3 separate regions of the Homo sapiens genome follow, and regions 1 and 3 are each linked to region 2. Evidence: promoter capture Hi-C in human tissues and cell types (Jung and others, 2019). All regions are on one chromosome and are shown on one strand. Each heading gives the region's core, a stretch centred on a gene start or on the middle of the fragment in contact. The rest is flanking DNA. Distances are from core to core; before and after follow the strand shown. Region 1 holds the start of RANBP3 (RAN binding protein 3). Region 2 holds the start of CAPS (calcyphosine). Region 3 overlaps FUT3 (fucosyltransferase 3 (Lewis blood group)).

What was found. Contacts are between HindIII fragments. The study calls those that stand out against the background at their distance.
Region 1: a contact is called between the fragment with the promoter of RANBP3 here and the fragment with the promoter of CAPS in region 2, in 3 of the 25 tissues and cell types used here (adrenal gland, dorsolateral prefrontal cortex and mesenchymal stem cells).
Region 3: a contact is called between a fragment that was not itself captured here and the fragment with the promoter of CAPS in region 2, in 2 of the 25 tissues and cell types used here (H1 embryonic stem cells and IMR-90 fibroblasts).

Annotation. Positions count from the first base shown.
Region 1 is chr19:5,975,876-5,979,553 of GRCh38, reverse strand. It overlaps RANBP3 (RAN binding protein 3), which reads left to right and starts at 1,414. Exons shown (of 17, transcript NM_007322.3): 1 at 1,414-1,493. The coding sequence starts at 1,472. RANBP3-DT (RANBP3 divergent transcript) reads right to left here and starts at 1,151. Exons shown (of 4, transcript NR_046376.1): 1 at 1,040-1,151. RefSeq lists silencers at 1,021-1,070, 1,121-1,290, 1,521-1,630. The HindIII fragment of the contact is 11,015 bases long and covers 1-3,678 here.
Region 2 is chr19:5,912,312-5,915,869 of GRCh38, reverse strand. It overlaps CAPS (calcyphosine), which reads right to left and starts at 1,616. Exons shown (of 5, transcript NM_004058.5): 1 at 1,561-1,616; 2 at 1,381-1,485; 3 at 1,130-1,307; 4 at 724-930; 5 at 1-649. The coding sequence starts at 1,463. The coding sequence ends at 548. The HindIII fragment of the contact is 10,666 bases long and covers 1-3,558 here.
Region 3 is chr19:5,853,225-5,856,618 of GRCh38, reverse strand. All of the region lies in intron 1 of FUT3 (fucosyltransferase 3 (Lewis blood group)), which reads left to right. LOC101928844 (a long non-coding RNA gene) reads right to left here. Exons shown (of 4, transcript NR_110740.1): 3 at 1,957-2,048. Among named protein-coding and RNA genes, the nearest start is that of FUT3, 2.2 kb to the left of the region's middle. RefSeq lists a silencer at 1,117-1,504. The HindIII fragment of the contact is 5,809 bases long and covers 1-3,394 here.

The DNA.
Region 1 (3,678 bases), core at 165-2,664, 64 kb before region 2:
GTGTATATATATATATATACACACACACACATATATATGCACACGTGTATGTATATATCTGTGTGTATATATATAGATAAAAACAAAGTATATATGTGTATATATATGGGGGAGGTTCTTGCTGTGTCCCTAGGATGGTGGCAGTGGCACTGTCACAGCTCACTGCAGCCTCAACCTCCTGGGCTCAAGTGATCCTCCTGCCTCAGCCTCCCAAGTAGCTGGGACCACAGGCTTGCACCACCACATCCGGGTAATTTTTGTGTTTTTGTAGAGATGGGGTCTTGCTCTGTTGCCTAGGCTGGTTTTGAACTGAGCTCAAGCGATCCTCCCACCTTGGCCTCCCGCAGTGCTGGGATTCCAGGGGTGAGCTACCGCGTCTGGCTGATTATATTTTTCAAAGACTCCTCAGCCTGCGGCCATGTGCAGAACCAAGCCTGGGGCTTCAAAAGAATGCAGCAAAGGATAGCAGAGAGGCCGCTGTCCAAGTCTTCCATGAGATAGATACGGACGATGTGGCCTAGGGTGGTGACAGCCTGGGGGTGACAATGGGTGGCTCTGGGCTGTATTTTGGAGGCAAGGCCAAGTCCGAAGGATTTGCTGAGAGATTCATAGCAGGTGAGTAGAGAACAACTCCAGGGTGTCCAGGACCCTCCCATGAGCCTTGTGAGTGAGGCTGATGGTCCCATTTTACAGATGGGTAACCTGGAGGCGCGCGGTTCCCCTCCCATGAGCTTGTGAAGTTGATTCTCGTAGCTCCGAGGGGTCGAGTCCCTCGCGCCGGCTCCCCCCGCCCCCAACGCCAGCACCTGGGTCCCAGGGCTGCGCCCCCTCCTAGAGCCTGACCACGACCCCCGCCCCCGCCGATGAGCTCTGATTTACCCCCCAATCCCAAGCACCCCGCGCCCTCTCGCCACTTCCCCCGTGGTTTCAGGAAAGCGTTTGCCGAAGGTACCGGCTCCTAAGGCGGGTAAACTGAGGTAGGAGGCAACGCGTCTCCCGCCCGCGCGTGTGGGAAGCCCCCGCAGGCCCGGCGATTTACCTGGAGGAAGGCCTCGGCTGCGGCGCCCTGAACTGCTCACTGTCCCACCGCGGGGGAACCCCGGAAAACGAGTGGGAAAACGAGTGCTTCAAGACCCGCCTCGGGCCGCGCGGTGCCGCCTCACTAAACCTTAGTCGCTGCCACTGCGCATGCGCCCTTCCCGGCCCTTTCCCCGCCCTCTCAGTCGGCGGGAAAAGGAGGCGGGAGATGGCTCGTGCGCAGGTGCGTGCTAGGAGCGCGGCTCGTCAGGGCAGGCTGCTCTGCAGGGCAGGCGATCCGGGGCTCGCCTCCGCGCGGCATTCAGCGCGCAGGCGCGAGCTGGCCGCCTCACACGGAGTCGGCTTGTTAAGTGCGCACGCGCGGGAGTTTCTGGCAGAAAGCAGGCGAGCCTGGGCCGGCGCGGGGCCTTGTGGGAGGGCTTAAGGAAGTAAAATGGCGGACCTGGCGAACGAAGGTAGGGGAGGCGCCGTTGGGGACCGGCTGGCGGCCGGGGAACGGGCGGCGGGAGGACTAGGGGCCACAAGCCCTTGGGGGGAGCACCGCAGAGTGCAAGGGTTTCGTCCGCTCCAGGCTAGCGCCGTGGCGGGCCTTGCAGCCGCCCCCTATTGCGTCCCCTCAGGCCGGGCTCACCGGCCCGGCCCATCACTCCCGGCAACCCCAGCCACTGCAGCCGTCTGGCTAGAGGAGCCGGGTGGCCATCGGGATCGCAGCCCTAAGGCCCCTCTGCGTCGCAGCCAAGCTCGGGGCTGAAGGGGGCGGGAGGCGCGGCCCCAGTGCTTCGGCCACGGATGTAAATAGACCTTAGGGCCTGGTTGTGGCCCGGAGCGCGCCACGCTCCCTCCCCGCCCCCTCGTCCTCCGCCACCCGGCATCTCCCCTTCCCCGGCCTGGCTGCCTATCTCCTAAGCCCGTGAGGCCCTCGTCCTCCGCGGGCCAGCCGCACACCGCGGACGGAGGAAGCCCAGGCCGTTTTCACCCCGTCCCCGCCCCGAACTTCGGCCCCCACTTCCCGCCAGTTCCCCCCGGATCCTTCGGGGCGCTTCGTCTCCCCCTCATTTAGGCCCCGCCGCAGGATCTGGGCCGCCGAAAACCCTGGCTGCTCTTTGGCCCTTTTTGCTGCACTTCCAGACAAGAGACCGTGCGAGTCCCTCCTCTGTGGAGCGCTGACAGCCCACCTGAGTGTTTTTGACAAGGTTACACTTCCAGATCCCCCGAGAAGGCACCATAAGGCTGATGTCTGCTTCCATCCATAGTCGTGTTGCCATCGCTGTAGCTTCAAGACTTCTGAGGCCTATTTTTAGCTCCCCCCCTTTTCTAGTTGCACAAATGCAGGCAAGCTCTCTACCTGTCTGGCTCTGATTCCCCCATTCGGTGCTCCCTGTGACTGGAGGGTTTTCCCTACCGAATTGCAGTAATGAATGAATGATGATAGGAAGTGCTTGGTCTTGTGGAGCATTTAGGGTAGTTACCAGGTGTGGTGCAAAGTCTTGACATACTGTTTTCCCTGGTAGGAGGTATAGATACTGTTAGCCCCATTCACTTGATGAGGAGACTGAGTCAACGTGGTTAAGTCGCTTATCCAAGGCGTGTCACACAGCTGGGAAGGAGCAGGGATGTGAACCAAGATGGCCTGGCTTCAGATGCCAGACCACGGGTGCTCAGTCCCTGCAGATTCTGATTCTGTGTGGTGTTGGGCGGGCGCTGGGCATCTGTACAGGCAGCAGCACAGGTTCTCTCCCTGATTCTTGGCCATTTTATTCTATTTTATTTTTTGGGACGGAGTCTAGCTCTGTAGCCAGGCTGGAGTGCAGTGGCGCCATCTCGGCTCACTGCAATCTCCGCCTCCCGGGTTCAGGTGATTCTCCTGCCTCAGCCTCCCGAGTAGCTGGGATTACAGGCGCGCACCACCACACCCAGCTAATTTTTGTGTTTTTAGTACAGACGGGGTTTCACCATGTTGGCCAGGATGGTCTCCATCTCCTGACCTCGTGATCTGCCCGCCTCGGCCTCCCAAAGTGCTGGGATTACAGGCGTGAGCCACCGCACCCGGCTGCTACATCTCTTTTTTTAAGATAAAGGAGCCCATGGAGGGTTGCAGCATTCCAACTCATGAGATCTAGTTACAGAGGGACTGGGTAAGTGGGAATCAGTATGACATATTTTATGTATTTACATCCTGAGCCCACATAGCTTCTTGAACTCAGGACTCATGTCCAGCATCACATTTCGACATCTCCATTTGGATGTGTCATAGGTAAGTCTAGAGCGTTTCCAAAACAAAATCCTTATCTCCCCCACTACACCTGCCCATCCCATGGTCTTTCACCCATTGTAGTTAGTTAGGCAGGTCCATTCTTTGAATTCTTCTGGCCCCAAACCTTGAAGTCACCCCTGGTTTCCCTCTTTCTCATACTGCACAGCAAATACTATCATTTCTACCTTAAAATTATTCCCAAAGGGGGACCACCACTTCTCCCCACCAACACCGTCAATGCTTAGCCCCCGTTCCCTCCACCCTTACCCATCTGAGAACTTCTCAGCCCATAGTGGGCCCCAATATGTCCCTGTCCTTCTCTCTCGCCACTCTCTGCTGCCTTGCTCTGTGCTAACTACTCTGGCTTTTTCAGTTTTCCTTGAATG
Region 2 (3,558 bases), core at 367-2,866:
TTACCTGCTATTTTTATTCCCCATTTGCCATCTTCTGATTGGGGGTTGATGTTTTACAGATTTTTTTTTCAAAGGCTTTATTTCAGTTTCTGAGGTTAGGATGCCCCTGTGCCCCTCGCTCCACACCTGGGCAGGTCTAAACTTCCTTCCAGGATGGCCTCCACACACAGCCTCCCACCTGGGGTCACCTGGCTTCCTGGGGGACCCGCAAGGGAGGGGCAGGGAGCAGCAGTCCGGGTGCGGGGATCGGGGGACCTCGGCGGGGGCATCCACAGGGGCTGCAAGATCTCTGGTCAGCATGGCGTGGGTGGGGAGAGCGTTTCTCCCTGGGGTCCTGAGCCAGTGACTCCTGTTAGGACCTTTGTCCCACCTCCGCCTGGTGGACCGGCAGGGACCTGGTCTAGCCAGTCCTGCAGCCTCCATTCCCCCACCTGCCCCTCCCCGCTCTGTGGTGTGGCTGCCCAGGAGAGAAGGGGCCCAGGGAAGGGAGGTCTCCGGCAGGGGTGGGGAGTGACAGGCCAGGGCAGCAGGGCTGAGCCGGAGCTGCTCACAGCTGCCAGGCACTGGTCATCATGGCCACGAACTCCTCATCCGTGTTCATGGAGGCACTCACGCCGCTGTAGTAGTCCTGGAATTCCGCCAGTGTGACCTGGGAACAGAGGGCCGTGAGGGGGCACGGCCGAGGAACTGCCTGGGGAGGGGGCCCCCCGCGCAGCCACCCACCTGCCCGTCCTTCTCAGAGGAGTCGAAGTTGTCCAGGAAGCGGCGCAGCACCTCGTCCTCGGTCCACTCCCCACTGCGCACCTTGGGGTGGGCACGGCCACTGTACACCCCGCGGAGGTCGTCCACCGTCACGACGCCGTCCCCACTGCGGTCCAGCTTGGCAAATGCAGCTGCGATGACAGCCTCCCGGGCCTGGGACATGGGGGGCTGGGACAGGAGGTGGTGACTGGGGGTGGTGGGTAGCACACCCAAACCCCCAAGACGCTGTGCAGAGCACTGGGGCTGTATGCCCCAGCAGGCGCCTCTTAACAGCAGCTCTTAGGGAGGAGTCCCCGTCTCCGCATCTCAGCATCCTCTGTCGCCCCATGCCCAGGGCACACGCCTTGACTGTGAGGTGGGGGCTCACCCGCAGCGCCCGAAGGAACTCCTCCAGATCCAGCGTCCCGCTGCCATTGCGGTCCCACTTCCTGCACACACCCTCTGCCTCCGCCTGGTCCAGCACCAGCCCGAGTTTGGCCAGACCCTGCCGGAACTCATCAGCGTCCAGGGATCTGCTCCCGTCCCGGTCTAGTTGGCGGAAAAACCTGGAGGCAGGGGACACGGTTGGAACAGTGGTCTCAGGGGCCGGGGTCAGGAAGGTGAGAGGGGACAGCTCACCTGGCCAGGCCCTGGATGCCCGAGGCCCCGCGGGACAGGCACTGTGCCCGGAGTTTCTCCATGGTGGCATCCACGGCGTCCATGCTTGGTCTGGGCTCTGGGCAGCTGGAAGGGAGAGAGGTCAAGGTGGGGACTCCCGCAAGCCCACCCTGGCCGACTGCCCCTTGTTCAGATGCTCACCTGGCCTGCGTCTGTCCCAGAGTCCTGCCTGCGGGGCCTTGTGTTAGCTGTGTTGTGCCTGGGGAGACTGTTGCTAGTGGAAGGTGCCTCTGGAGATGGGGTGGGGCCCAGCTGCATGAATGCACTGTGCTGGGCAGTGGGGAGTGGGGGAGGGATGGGTGCGCCCAGCCTGACTGCTTACTCAACTGCCAGCCCCACAGGGCCTGGGACAGAGCCAGATCCCTGTGGCACTGCATCCCTTCCTGGCTCCAAGGAGGAGGGGCAGGCCACTGCCCTGCAGGGGCTGAAATGCCCTGGATGGAGACAAGTCCGTGGCTGGGGAGGCTTGACGCATGATTCCTGTGTGACCCTGGACAGGTCCCTTTCCCTCTCTGGCTTCACAGGGGCTTCTCAGCCCGAGCCAGGGCTGACAAAATTGCTGAGGAATCAAAGTTCAAAAGGGCCCCAGGTTCTGACCGGCCACTGCGGCTCATGCCTGAAATCCCAGCACTTTGGGAGGTCTAGGTGGGAGGATCACTTGAGCCCAGGAGTTTGGACCAGCCTGGGGAACATATAGAGAACTTGTTTCTATTGTACAGCAACAAAAATGCCCCAGGTGGGCTGGGCGCGGTGGCTCATGCCTGTAATCCCAGCACTTTGGGAGGCCGAGGTGGGCAGATCACAAGGTGAGGAGTTTGAGACCAGCCTGACCAACATGGTGAAACCCCGCCTCTACTAAAAATACAAAAATTAGCCGTGCATGATGGTGGGCGCCTGTAATCCGAGCTACTTAGGAAGCTGAGGCAGGAGAATCGCTTGAACCCAGGAGGTGGAGCTTGCAGTGAGCCAAGATTGCACCACTGCACTCCAGTCTGGGCGACAGAGCAAGACTCCATCTCAAAAAGAAAAAAAAAAAAAAAGCCCCAGGTGGCCCAGGTCCTGGGGCCCTAAGACCTCCCACCCAGGCCCACCTCCAAGGGCAGGTCCTGCAACCCACAGAGACTGAGCTGAGCCTGAGGGACACCTCTGCTCACTGCCACAAAGCTTGTCACTGGCCGTTGTTAGGAGCCAGTCCCAGGATTTCTGTCTTTACGGATCTTTTGTTGTTGGTTTTCAGGCCTGAAACGTGACTTAGTGGGCTGGCTCCTGACAAGGTGGTGAGCCAGAGGTTGTGACCCCGAGTGGAAGAGCAGCCCTGATCCTGGACATAAACCTCAAGAGACGAAGCCACCTCACTGAAGGCCTTCAACGGAGACATCGGATATACCTGCCCGCTAAGATAGGTGGGTTTTCCAGGACTTGAAACGTGGGCCCTGTTTGAGGACCCACTGTTCGCCCCGACCCAAGGATCATCAATCGGAGCCTTCTCCAAGCCTGGCTTTACCTCGCTCACAGCACAATTATATTGTCAGAAGTTGCCTTGCCTGAGCGCGGTGGCTCATGCCTGTAATCCCAACACTTTGGGAAGCCAGGGCAGGAAGATCACTTGAGCCCAGGAGTTTGAGACCCGCCTGTGCAACATAGTGAGACCCCCCCATCTCTACAAAAACTACAAAAAATTAGCCAGGCATGGTGGTGTGTTCCTGTAATCCCACCTACTTGGAAGGCTGAGGCAGGAGGATCACTTGAGCCCGGGAGTTGGAGGCTGCAGTGAGCTATGATCGCACCACTGCACTCCAGCCTGGGTTACAGAGCAAGACGCCCGCCTCTTAAAAATAAGTAAATAAACTGGCCGGGCACGGTGGCTCACGCCTGTAATCCCAGCACTTTGGGAGGCCGAGGCGGGCAGATCATGAGGTCAGCAGTTCGAGACCAGCCTGGCCAACATGGTGAAACCCTGTCTCTACTATAAATACAAAAATTAGTCAGCCGGGTGCGGTGGCTCATGCCTGTAATCACAGCACTTTGGGAGGCCGAGGCAGACAGATCACCTGAGGTCAGGAGTTTGAGACCAGCCTGGCCAACATGGTGAAACCCTGTCTCTACTTAAAATACGAAAAACTAGCTGGGCGTGGTGGT
Region 3 (3,394 bases), core at 366-2,865, 59 kb after region 2:
GTTGGGGTTTCAGTAAACAGTGAACAGAGCTGGAGGAGTCGAGGGGCAGACAGTAGGTGTGAAAGGTGTGAGGAGGATATTAACGCTTGAAGGTTGTGAGAACTGTAGAGGGCAAGTGGAGCCTGGCCTGTGATTTTGAGGGCTTCCAGAAGTATTAAAGTGGTGGCTGCTGCCACATGTAGACATGAGGGCCAGCCTAAAACAGTAAGGTCAGGTCGTTTGGATAGAAAGGCTGCAGGGCACAGTCTTGGCTCTTGTATAAGAATTCTGACCACACAGCCCAGCACTTCGGCTGTGTGTAAGGAAAAAGGGTTGGGCTAAGTCAGGGAGAGCTAGTGTGGGAGCAGTCTCTATAGCTGTTTTCAAGGAACGGAAAGAGGAGTGGGGAAAGGATTTAGGATCTATGGGATCAGCTAGATTTCCCTTTGTGAGTTTATATAATGGTTTTGTTAGGATGGCAAAACCAGGTATCCAAAGGCAAAAGTACCCAACCATGCCCAGGAAGGAAAGAGTTTTTGCTTTGTAGGAGGGGTTGGGGTTTGAGAGATCAGCCGGACATGATCGGCAGGGAGAACACGTGTGTTTTCATGAAGAATTATGCTGAGGTAGGTAACGGATGAGGAAGAAATCAGGGCTTTGGAGGGGGATACGCAATATCCCTTTAAGAATAGATGTTGGAGGAGCAGGAGGGTGTCCTGTTGGGAAGATTTGCAGGAGGGGCTATAAAGTAGAAGGTCATCAAAATATTGAATAAGGTGAGAAGCAAAGGGGTGGAAAGAAAGTAAATCATGAGAAAGAGCTTGGCTGAAGTAATGAGGGCTGTCTCTGAAGCCTTGTGGCAGTACAGCCCAGGTAAGCTGCTGGGACTGATGGGTGTCAGGGTCAGCCCAGGTAAAAGCAAAAAGAGGCTGGGATGAGGGGTGCAGGGGAATGGTGAAAAAAGCATCTTTAAGATCAAGAACTGAATAGTGAGTTGTGTAGGAAGGTATTGAGGACAAAAGAGTGTACGGGTTGGTCCCCACAGGGTGGATAGGAAAAACAATTTTGTTGATAAGGTGCAGATCCTGAACTAACCTGTAAGACTTGACCAGTTTTTGGACAGGTAAAATGGGGGAATTGTAAGGAGAGTTTATAGGCTTTAGAAGCCCATGCTGTAGCAGGCGAGGGATAATAGGCTTTAGTTCCCTTAAAGCCTGTTGTGGGATGGGATACTGGCATTGAGCGGGGTAAGGGTGATTAGGTTTTAATGGGATAGTAACGGGCGTGTGATTGGTTGCCGGGGAGGGAGTAGGGGTGTCCCCTCCCTGTGGGTGAAGGTGGGAGGGATACAAGAGGAAGACACGAAGGACGCTTTGGTTTGGGAAGAAGGGCGGCAATGAGATGTGGCTATAGTCCAGGAATGGTCAGGGAAGAAGACAATTTGGTTAAAATGTCTCGGCCTAATAACAGAACTGGGCAGGTGGGGATAACTAAGAAAGAGTGCATAAATGAATGTTGTCCAAGTTGGCACCAGAGTGGGGGAGTTTTAAGGGGTTTTGAATCTTGGCTGTCAATACCCACAACAGTTATGGGGGCAAGGGAAACAGGCCCTTGAAAGAAAGGTAATGTGGGCTGGGTGTGGTATCTCACGCCTGTAATCCCAGCACTTTGGGAGGCCGAGGCGGGCAGATCACCTGAGGTCAGGAGTTCGAGACCAGCCTGGCCAACAAGGTGAAACCCCATCTCTACTAAAAATACAAAAATTAGCCGGGTGTGGTGGCGGGCATCTGTAATCCCAGCTACTCGAGAGGCTGAGGCAGGAGAATCCCTTGAACCCGGGAGGTGGAGGTTGCAGTGAGCCGAGATTGCTCCGTTGCACTCCAGCCTGGGTGACAGAGAGAGACTCTGTCTCAAAAAAAAAAGAAAGGTAATGTGGATGGGTAGCTCCCATATCAATTAAACAGGGGATGGCCTTACCCTCCACTGTGAGAGTTACCCGAAGCTCGGCGTCCATGATGGTCCAGGGGGCTTCCGAGGCGACCAGGCAGCATCAGTCTTCAGCCGCTAAGCTGAGAAGATCTGAAAAGGAGTCAGTCAGAGAGCCTGGGGCCAGAGTTCCAGGGGCTCTGGGAGTGGCTGCCAGGCTAGTTGGACGGTCTGATTTCCAGTGGGGTCCTGCACAGATGGGACACGGCTTAGGAGGAATCCCAGGCTGCGGGCATTCCTTGGCCCAGTGGCCAGATTTCCGGCACTTGAAGCAAGATCCTGGGGCAGGAGGTCCTGGAGGAATGCCTGGCAGATGTGGTTTAGGCGTTTTGAAGTTCTCATGTTCTGGAGATGTGGCTGGCGTTTCTCTCTCAGCGGAGGCAAGTAATTACAACTCAGAAATACGTTGCCACTTGGCTGTATCTTTTTTATTATTGTATACCTTGAAGGCAAGGTTAATTAAGTCCTGTTGTGGGGTTCGAGGGCTGGAATCTAATTTTTGGAGTTTTTTCTAATGTTAGGAGCGGATTGAGTGATAAACTGCATATTGAGAATAAGACGGTCTTCTGGTCCCTCTGGGTCTAGGGTGGTAAAGCATCTCAGGGTTGTTGCCAAATGGGCCATGAACTGGGCCGGGTTTTTATATTTGATGGAAAAGAGCCTAAATGCTAACTGATTTGAGAGAGGTCAGCTAAAGAAAAAGGAGCATTAACCTTGCCTATGCCTTCAGCTCCAGCCACCTCTCTAAGAGGAAATTGTTGGGCAGGTGGGGGAGGGCTGTGTCACGGAACGAAACTGTAAGCCAGACCGGGTGTGAGGAGGGGAGGTGATAGAAGGATTATAGGGTGGGGGAGCGGAGGTTGAGGAAGAATTGGGACCTGGCTCTGCCTGGCAAGGAGCAGCCTGGGGAGGAGGGGAGAGGTCAGATGGGTTCGTAGAAAAGGAGGATTCAAAGGACTCAGAGCTTGGGGTGCAGACTGAAGGAACAGACAGGAGAGAAAGAAGAAAGATTTGGGACGAGTCGCATTGGGAGCAGAGACTAGGGAGGGACCAGTGTGTAAAAGAATGCCTGGACGCGGCCGGGCATGGCGGCTCACACCTGTAATCCCAGCACTTTGGGAGGCCAAGGTGGGCGGATCACAAGGTCAGGAGATCGAGACCATCCTGGCTAACACAGTGAAACCCCGTCTCTACTAAAAATAAAAAAAATTAGCTGGGCATGGTGGCGGGCGCCTGTAGTCCCAGCTACTCAGGAGGCTGAGGCAGGAGAATGGCGTGAACCCGGGAGGCGGAGCTTGCAGTGAGCCGAGATCGCGCCACTGCACTCCAGCCTGGGTGACAGAGCGAGACTCCGTCTCAAAAAAAAAAAAAAGAATGCCTGGACGTCAGGCACCTCGGACCATTTGCCCATGTTTCAACAAAAATCATC